Regions from separate parts of the Homo sapiens genome. Here region 2 is linked to region 1. The links are contacts of gene promoters, found by promoter capture Hi-C in blood cells and fetal thymus (Javierre and others, 2016). All regions are on one chromosome and are shown on one strand. Each heading gives the region's core, a stretch centred on a gene start or on the middle of the fragment in contact. The rest is flanking DNA. Distances are from core to core; before and after follow the strand shown. Region 1 holds the start of TPSD1 (tryptase delta 1). Region 2 has its middle 33 kb from the start of GNG13.

Evidence for each region. Contacts are between HindIII fragments. The CHiCAGO score rates a contact against its expected background, and 5 or more counts as called.
Region 2: a contact is called between a fragment that was not itself captured here and the fragment with the promoter of TPSD1 in region 1, in 3 of 17 cell types (M1 macrophages, M2 macrophages and erythroblasts). The highest score is 8.0, in M1 macrophages.

The regions. Positions count from the first base shown.
Region 1 is chr16:1,254,279-1,258,540 of GRCh38, forward strand. TPSD1 (tryptase delta 1) reads left to right here and starts at 1,791. Exons shown (of 5, transcript NM_012217.3): 1 at 1,791-2,084; 2 at 2,238-2,409; 3 at 2,519-2,784; 4 at 3,781-3,944; 5 at 4,054-4,262. The coding sequence starts at 2,003. The coding sequence ends at 4,098. The HindIII fragment of the contact is 7,208 bases long and covers 1-3,303 here.
Region 2 is chr16:831,750-836,011 of GRCh38, forward strand. No RefSeq gene overlaps it. Among named protein-coding and RNA genes, the nearest start is that of GNG13, 33 kb to the left of the region's middle. The HindIII fragment of the contact is 5,308 bases long and covers 1-4,262 here.

The DNA.
Region 1 (4,262 bases), core at 541-3,040:
AGCCCTCTGCACACCACAGCCCCGGTGTCCCCGTGTGTCCCTGGGTTCTCCCAGCCCTGGTGTCCCCTGAGTCTCTTCTTCACCGTCAGCCCTGGTGTCTCCCGTGTCCCTGCCACACCCTCATCCCTGGTGTCCCCCGTCACCCCATCCCCTCACCTCCTGGGCTCCTGAAGGTCCCATCTTGTGGGCCTCATTCATGGAACCAGGACGGGGCAGGTGGAGGCCTCTGGGGAGTTTGTCCAGAGAATGGAGGAGAAGCAGGGTCATGAGCAGGAGCGGTCTGGGCCACCCCTGCCTGTCCCCCGGGGGGTGCAGCCCGGAAGGAGTCCAGATGGATATGGCCCCGCAGTGCAGAGTCAGCCTCAAACCAGGCTGGTCCCAGGCAGGGTGGGGGCAGGAGGAGCCCCGGAGTGGCCCTGTGTTGGGGGTCGGGGGGCAGGCAGGGGGTCCTGGGGCTCAGAAGCAGAGGAGGTGGGCTGGAGGCCCCAGTGACCAACAGGCCCAGGTGAGTCAGGAGGTGGGGTGGACGGAGCTGCAGGGACAGTGTCAGCGCTGAATGGGATGGAGAGCACAGGGAGCTGGGGCCGGGGGTGAGACCAAGGGGAGCTGGGCTGGGGCTGGGGGTGAGTCCATGGGGAGCTGGGGCCGGGGGCTGGGACTAGTCCATGGGGAGCTGGGCTGGGGCTGGGGGTGAGACCATGGGGAGCTGGGCTGGGGCTGGGACTAGTCCATGGGGAGCTGGGCTGGGGCTGGGACTAGTTCATGGGGAGCTGGGCTGGGGCTGGGGGTGAGTCCATGGGGAGCTGGGCTGGGGCTGGGGGTGAGTCCATGGGGAGCTGGACTGGGGCTGTGGGTGAGTCCATGGGGAGCTGGGGCTGGGGCTGGGACTACTCCATGGGGAGCTGGGGCTGGGGCTGGGACTAGTCCATGGGGAGCTGGGCTGGGGCTGTGGGTGAGTCCATGGGGAGCTGGGCTGGGGCTGGGGGTGAGTCCATGGGGAGCTGGGCTGGGTCTCCTGGGGTTGCACCTGCACTCCTGTCTGCCCTTCCCTCTGCGGATGAAGCTCAGATCCCATGATAAGAAGGCACCTGCAGACCAGGGGACCTGCACGGACAGCCCCAGAGGTGGACATTGAGGAATCGTTGGAGGACTTGGGTCTCATACGGGAGGTGGGGAGCAGGGCCCCTTCCTGGCTGAGGACACTTGGTGCTGTCCCCTCTCAAGGCTGTTTCCCCATCTGACAAAGGGGTCTCATGTGAGCCCCCAACCAAGTGAGTCGAGGAGGGCTGGCCCCACCCCCGTGGATTCGGAGTCCGTAGGAGGGGTGTCACCCGTCATGTCCCCACCCCGTGGGCACCTTCCCGTCTCTTGGAGGGTGGCCCATGGACATGAGTTCCTCACCCCGTGTCCCTCTTGGGGAAACAGGTTTCAGGAGCGACGGGTCTTGTAGCCTGGGGCAGCCAGGCCACCTGGGTGCAGCTATGCCTGAAGGCCTCCTGGCACCGAGACAGGGGCAGGAGCAGATCCCACCAGCGGGAAGGTGGTGGGTTCCAGTGCTGGGATCCACCAGCTGACAGGTGGAGCTGCGAGCCTCCAGTGCTCAGCCCTCGGCGGGGCCTGCCTGGCAGCCCCACACACAGAGGGCATCGGGGTGGCGGGGGCATGTGTTACACGGGGGCCCTGGGTCTGAGTCATCCACTTCCTCCGAGTCTGGATGGGAGGACCCAGCGCCCCTCCTCCGCCCCCTCCTGATCTGGAAGCATAAATGGGGAGGGGAGAGCCCGCTGGGTAGAAGGAACAGGGAGTGGCCAGGGTAAGTCCCTACTCTCAGAGACCCTGACATCAGCGTCACCTGGAGCAGAGTGGCCCAGCCTCAGACTCAGAGCACCAAGACCCAGGCCCGCAGGCCTGGACCCACCCCGGTCCCCCCGTCCCAGCTCCATTCTTCACCCCACAATCTGTAGCCCCCAGCCCTGCCCTGTGAGGCCCGGCCAGGCCCACGATGCTCCTCCTTGCTCCCCAGATGCTGAGCCTGCTGCTGCTGGCGCTGCCCGTCCTGGCGAGCCCGGCCTACGTGGCCCCTGGTGAGTCCCAGCCGGGGTCCACCCTGCCCCTCACCACATTCCACAGATCAGGGCCTGGGTGGGTTCTGGGGAGGCCGGGCTGGCCCCCACACAGGGAAGGGCTGGTCCCAGGCGTGGGGCGGCTTCTTGGTCCTGACCTGGCACCTGCCCCAGCCCCAGGCCAGGCCCTGCAGCAAACGGGCATTGTTGGGGGGCAGGAGGCCCCCAGGAGCAAGTGGCCCTGGCAGGTGAGCCTGAGAGTCCGCGGCCCATACTGGATGCACTTCTGCGGGGGCTCCCTCATCCACCCCCAGTGGGTGCTAACCGCGGCGCACTGCGTGGAACCGTGAGTCTCCTGGGGCCTGGAGGGGTGGGCAAGGGCTGGATGTGAGCCCTGGCTCCCGGGTGCTCCTGGGGGCTGCCCAGGGCCCTGAGTGGGATCCTCCGCTGCCCAGGGACATCAAGGATCTGGCCGCCCTCAGGGTGCAACTGCGGGAGCAGCACCTCTACTACCAGGACCAGCTGCTGCCGGTCAGCAGGATCATCGTGCACCCACAGTTCTACATCATCCAGACCGGGGCGGACATCGCCCTGCTGGAGCTGGAGGAGCCCGTGAACATCTCCAGCCACATCCACACGGTCACGCTGCCCCCTGCCTCGGAGACCTTCCCCCCGGGGATGCCGTGCTGGGTCACTGGCTGGGGCGACGTGGACAATAATGGTGGGTGTTGGGGACAGCGGGAGGCCGGGCCAGGTGGGCACCAAGTCACAGCCACAGGCCAGTCCGTGGGGTGACAGGGTCCCTCAGGGCGGCTCAGGGAGGGGGACTGTGGAGGCCAGGATGGATGGAGCAGGCGGTGGCGAGAGGCAGCAGGTGCCCTGAGCAGAGACGGTGAGTCCAAAGGGCCTGGGCGTCCCCCACCCCAGGGGTTTGGAGAGTCCCTTAGCACCTCCGTGCCTCGGTTTCCCCTTGCCTGAAAGGGTGCATCAAAAGTTTGTACGTCACGGACTTGCTATGTGGAGAGAGAAATCACACGGGGGTCTTGCTGGAAGGAGAGAGACCGGTGCTGGGATGAGACCTGCCTGCCCTCCATCCCTGTGCTACAGACAAGGCAGGGGCCTGGGAATCGGGGTCGTGGCAGTGCTGTGGGGGGCTGGACGAAGCTCACTGTGGCCCTCCACGAGGCACATTTTCACTTCTAGAAGGTCTTGTCCCCATTTTATCCACAATTCAGAGCAAAGCTTTGGGGTACAGCCTGAGCGGCAACCCTGGGCTGTGACCTCTGGGTCACTCAGAAGGGGCCTGAGCCACTGTCCCGCTATTCCGCCCCACACAGCGGGGAAGCTGAGCCCAGCGCCCTGTGTTCCCCTCGGCTAGGGCCAACCGTGGACCATGGGCCTAGCCCAGACGAAAGTCAGCTGAGCCCAGGGGGAGACACGGGTCGGGCTCTGCACCCCCGTGCCATGGAGCCCAGCTTGGCAACCTCCAGGGCCCTCCCCTCCCTTCCCCAGATGGGGCTTAAATGAGGCCAGGGACCCAGGACCAGCCTCAGCGGAGGGGCCTGGACTGCATTCACCGCCCCTTCCCCGGGGCTGCAGGCACAGAACAGCACTGGGCCCATGGTGCCATCTCCCCTGCCCGTGACTCTGCCACCAAGTCCACGAAGCAGCACCCAGCCGGCCCCAGACCCGGCTCCACGCCCCCCTCCGCCCCCAGTGCACCTGCCGCCGCCATACCCGCTGAAGGAGGTGGAAGTCCCCGTAGTGGAAAACCACCTTTGCAACGCGGAATATCACACCGGCCTCCATACGGGCCACAGCTTTCAAATCGTCCGCGATGACATGCTGTGTGCGGGGAGCGAAAATCACGACTCCTGCCAGGTGGGCCCTCGCGTCCCCCACCCCAATCCCCGGAGCCTGGCCAGCGAGCGCATCCCTCATCCTGACCCCCGAAGCCTGGCCAGCGAGCACTGACCTCTGACCTTCCCAGGGTGACTCTGGAGGGCCCCTGGTCTGCAAGGTGAATGGCACCTAACTGCAGGCGGGCGTGGTCAGCTGGGAGGAGAGCTGTGCCCAGCCCAACCGGCCTGGCATCTACACCCGTGTCACCTACTACTTGGACTGGATCCACCACTATGTCCCCAAGAAGCCCTGAGCCAGGCCTGGGGTGTCCACCCGGGTCACTGGAGGGCCAGCCCC
Region 2 (4,262 bases), core at 851-3,350, 420 kb before region 1:
GACGGGGCCCGCTGGGAACAGGTGTGGGGGCCCCAGCTCTGACCAGCGGGTGCCTGGGAGGGGGGTTCTCCTTGGACAAGAGCTGCCTCCAGCCCCTTGGTCCAGAACCCCTTGTGCCACCCCGGCACCCTCCGCCCTGTGAGTTTTTTCCCTCTGGGAGACGTTTACTTTCCTGGCAGTTGGCCAGCGTGGCACTCACAGAAAAGGCCAGGGCAGCCCCTCAGCCCCTTTCCTGAGGCCACACCGCCCTGAGAGCAGGGTGCGTGCCCTCAGCAGAAGCAAGGACCAGGGCCTCTCCTCCCGGCTGGGGCCCGGGATTCTGAGACCCATCTCTAAGGCCAGGGCAGGGCCGGGGCGGGGGACGTTTGTTAAATTTTTAGGAAAAAAAAGCAAAATCAACACAGAAACAAATGGATGAACCTGCCAATGGGTGGGGCCTGTGGACTCTGCCCCGGCCCTGCTCAGGGCCCTGTGGCCTCAGCTCCTTCCCTGGTGAGACACCCACCCTGCCCCATGCCACCAGTGGTATGACGCAGGGGAGGAGCAAGACGGGGAGGGGCTTGGGGGGAGGGGCGTGGGGGGGTGGAGTGTGAGGGGGGAGGGGGTATGAGGCAGGGGAGGAGCATGAGGGTGGGGAGGGGGTGGGGTGGTCAGGGTGTAGGGTGAAGGCGTGAGCCACAGTGCCCGGCCTCTCTCTTTTTTTTAGAGCTGGGTCTCACTCTGCTGTCCAGGCTGAAGTACAGGTAAGATCGTGGCTCGCTGTGCTCAAGTGATCCTCCTGGCCTAGCCTCCCAAAGTGCTGGGACAACAGGTGTGAGCCACTGCGCCCCCCTCCAGGTTTAGCTGTGGGATGTTTGGGCTTTGAAAGGAGCTGATCTGACGGAGCCAGGAGGGCTGGCTGCAGGACAGAGACAGGACGGCTGTCACAGCAGCCTCTGCCCCCAGCCGGTGCCCTGTCCTCGCCGTCTCTGTCCAGGAGGTCAGAGCAGTAGCACCCGCCCCGCCCCGTCCACCCTGTGGATCCTCAGCCCATCCGCCACCCCGCCCCGCCCCGCTCCGCCCCATCCACCCTGTGGCAGAGGCTTTTCATGGCAGCTCCGAGAACAGGAGGACAGTCACCTCCAGCATTTGCTCTGAGTCTGTTCCCTGGCGAGGTGAGGCCCCAGCTGTTTTAGCGCTCATAAAAATTTACGGCCATCACAAGGGAGCTCAGCTGGGTGGATCACGGTGTCGGGGCGGCGCCCCTGTGAGCTACCTTTTGTGAGCCGCTCCGGACACTTTGGCTCCGGGCTGGCATCTCCTGCCACCCTCATGAGAGCAGTGGCTGCAGCCCCCGCCTCTTGGGCTGGCCCTGTCATGGCAGCAAGGGCTCTGCGTGTGTACGGCCGCCCCCTGCAAGTGTGCTTGTTAACGGGGACTGTGAGGAACTGTGGGGGACTCAGGGCACGGGGAACCGGGGTCGGGCTGAACATTACTCCCTACTCTGAAAGGACAGCGTTGGGACAATGTGGCCAGGCTGCGTGAGGCTGAGTGGGGCAGCATGGCCAGGAGGGGCGAGGGGAGGGGGTGCGAGGCAGGAGGCTGGAAGTAGGGAGAAGGGGTGTTCCACTCACCATCACCCATCCCACCAATCTCGCTCACAAATCCCTGTAGTCTGCAGTGGCTGCCTCTTTATTCCTGGAACAGTGGCTTGGGTTGGGGTCTGCGTCTTGGATGGGGGAGAGCAGGGGGCTCATGCCCGGGAGCCCATGGACAAAGGCACCTGCTCCATGGTAGAGAAGGTTCTGCCCCAGCAAGGGGGCCGTCGAGCGGACAGCCCAGGGCAGCCACATGGGGAGGCTGGGTTGGGGACAGCAGCCCCGGCGCCTCTCCCGGAGAAGCAGCCTCCCCAAGCTGTGCCTGAGCCGAGGGCACCGTCCAGGTCATCTCAGCCAGAGCCTTGGCCGGGTCTAGGGGAGGGGTCACGCCAACGTGATGACCTCCTGGCAGCTGTGTGACTTGAAGGTTTTCAAGCAAAGGCTGAATAGCCCGGAGAACATCCACACACCCAGGCCCAGGGTCAGCCATTTCGGCAACTTGCCCATATGTGTTTTACACGTTACGCACATGCCTTTGTGTTTTCTGCCCACCGTTTTGAAGAAAGCAGCAGACACTGTGACTGTAAATACTTCAGCGTCTCCCGACGTGGGGACACTCCCATTAGAGAACAAATCCAGTGAATTAGTGAACAGGTGCATGCATTCAAACACGAATCTGTGCTGGCCGTGGTGGCTCACGCCTGTAATCCTAGCACTTTGGGAGTCTGAGGTGGGTGGATCACTTGAGGTCAGGAGTTGGAGGCCAGCCTGGCCAACATGGCAAAACCCCGTCTTACTAAAAATACAAAAATTAGCTGGGTGTGGTGGCGCAGGTCTGTAATCCCACCTACTCGGGAGGCTGAGGCAAGAGAATCGCTTGAACCTGCAAGGTGGAGGTTGCAGTGAGCTGAGGTCATGCCATTGCACTCCAGCCTGGGCAACAAGAGTGAAACTTTGTCTCAAAAAAAAAATTAATTTAACAAGAGAAGTGCAAGACTTGTACACTGGAACTACACTGGAAAGAAAGAAAGGTCTAAATAAATGCAAAGACATCCATGTTCATGGATAGGAAATCTTAATATAGCTAAGATGAGAATACTTCCCAAATTGATCTACAGATTCAACACAATCCGTATCAGAATCCCAGCTGATTTTTGTGTGTGCAGAAATGGACAAGGTGACTGTAACGTTCATATCAAATTGCAAGAGATGGCAGAGAGCCAAAATCATCTTGAAAAGGAACAAAGTTGGAGAATTCAAATTTCCCACTGAGGGATAGTGGCTCGCGGGGCCTGTGTACCAGCCTGGTTGTCTTGGCAGAAGTTTGGCATTTTGATACGCCTGATGCTTTCCTGTGCCGTCTGCCTCATTCCTCACTCCTTGAGTTTCCTGTGGGCTGGGGTTGAGGGGGTTCAGCCCAGTCTCCACCCAGCACCCTCAGCCAGCTCGTCTGTGCCGTCTGCCTCATTCCTCACTCCTTGAGTTTCCCGTGGGCTGGGAGTTCAGCCCACAGTCTCCACCCAGCACCCTCAGCCGGCTCCTCTGTTGGGTGCTGTGTCTGCGTCTCTGCATTGTTCCACCGACACCACAGCTGCACTTGTCCCTGTGATGGGCCCAGGCTGGGCTCCTCTTGCCCTGTGGTCTCCGATTCCTATTACCTGTCACCAAACAGTTCGCCCCCTTGGTGGTCCTTGCCTGAGTCACCATGGGTAGCAAAATGGTTTCTTCTAGAACTTTTGTGGCCGTATTATTACAGACTTGTCTTTAGTAGGGGCAAAATCCCATCCTCACGTCCCTCACCAAATTAAATGGCTGTCCAGACTCCATGTGGACTGTGACCCTGGGCCTGTGGGACCAGACTGGCCTGGGGAATGGGCATGACTCGTGTTGTGGAGGGAGGTGGGGAGTGGAAGAGAGGATGCCCTTCCATGTGTGGCCCGCCCTGCCCTGCCCTCCCCACACAAACTCCCTGGTTTCTGCCTGTGCCAAGCCATGAGCCTCCAGGAGGGCCTGGACTGGGGGAAACCAGTCTGGGGGCTGCAGCCCCCTCAGGCCCAGCTTCAGAGGACCCCACAAAGTGATGGGCCTGAAGGGGAGGGGGAGGGCATCTGCCTGCTCTGCAGACCCCAGGCCAGGCCAGGGGCTGGGCCAGACACAGGGGCTGCTTCTGGGCATGACCCCCCCCCCCGACCCCCCGCCCAAGTGAGGTGGCTGTGTGACCTTCGTGCTGGGCGTTTGTCTGGGACACAGAGCTGTGGCCTCCCCCACTGTGCAGCGATGGCCGACCTGTCTCTTGAGACCGTCTGTCCCCTTCTGAGCCCCTGGGAATAGTGGGGTGAGTTACCAGCCACACAGCTGCATGGCTGGACACTTCTCCCCACACCTCAGCCTGAGGCCCTGTGCTGGAGCACCGAGGATCATCTGGGCGGGAGCTGCCTGCGGCCTGTGGGTGCCTAGCTGTGCATCTCTGGGACCTGGAGGGAAGGATAGCTCAGAAGGGGCTTTTCAGGGGTGACCATGTAAGGCAAATTAAGGAAAGAGGGTGAACAGGGAACACTCGAAGATGAGAGATGCCTTTTCTCTTTGAGCATGTGTGAGAACATGCTAGGGTGGTCTGGAAGGTCTGTAATGGGGGTGGTGCTGGGTATTGCCCTATTGGGGGTGCAGCCTCCGCTTCACAGGGCT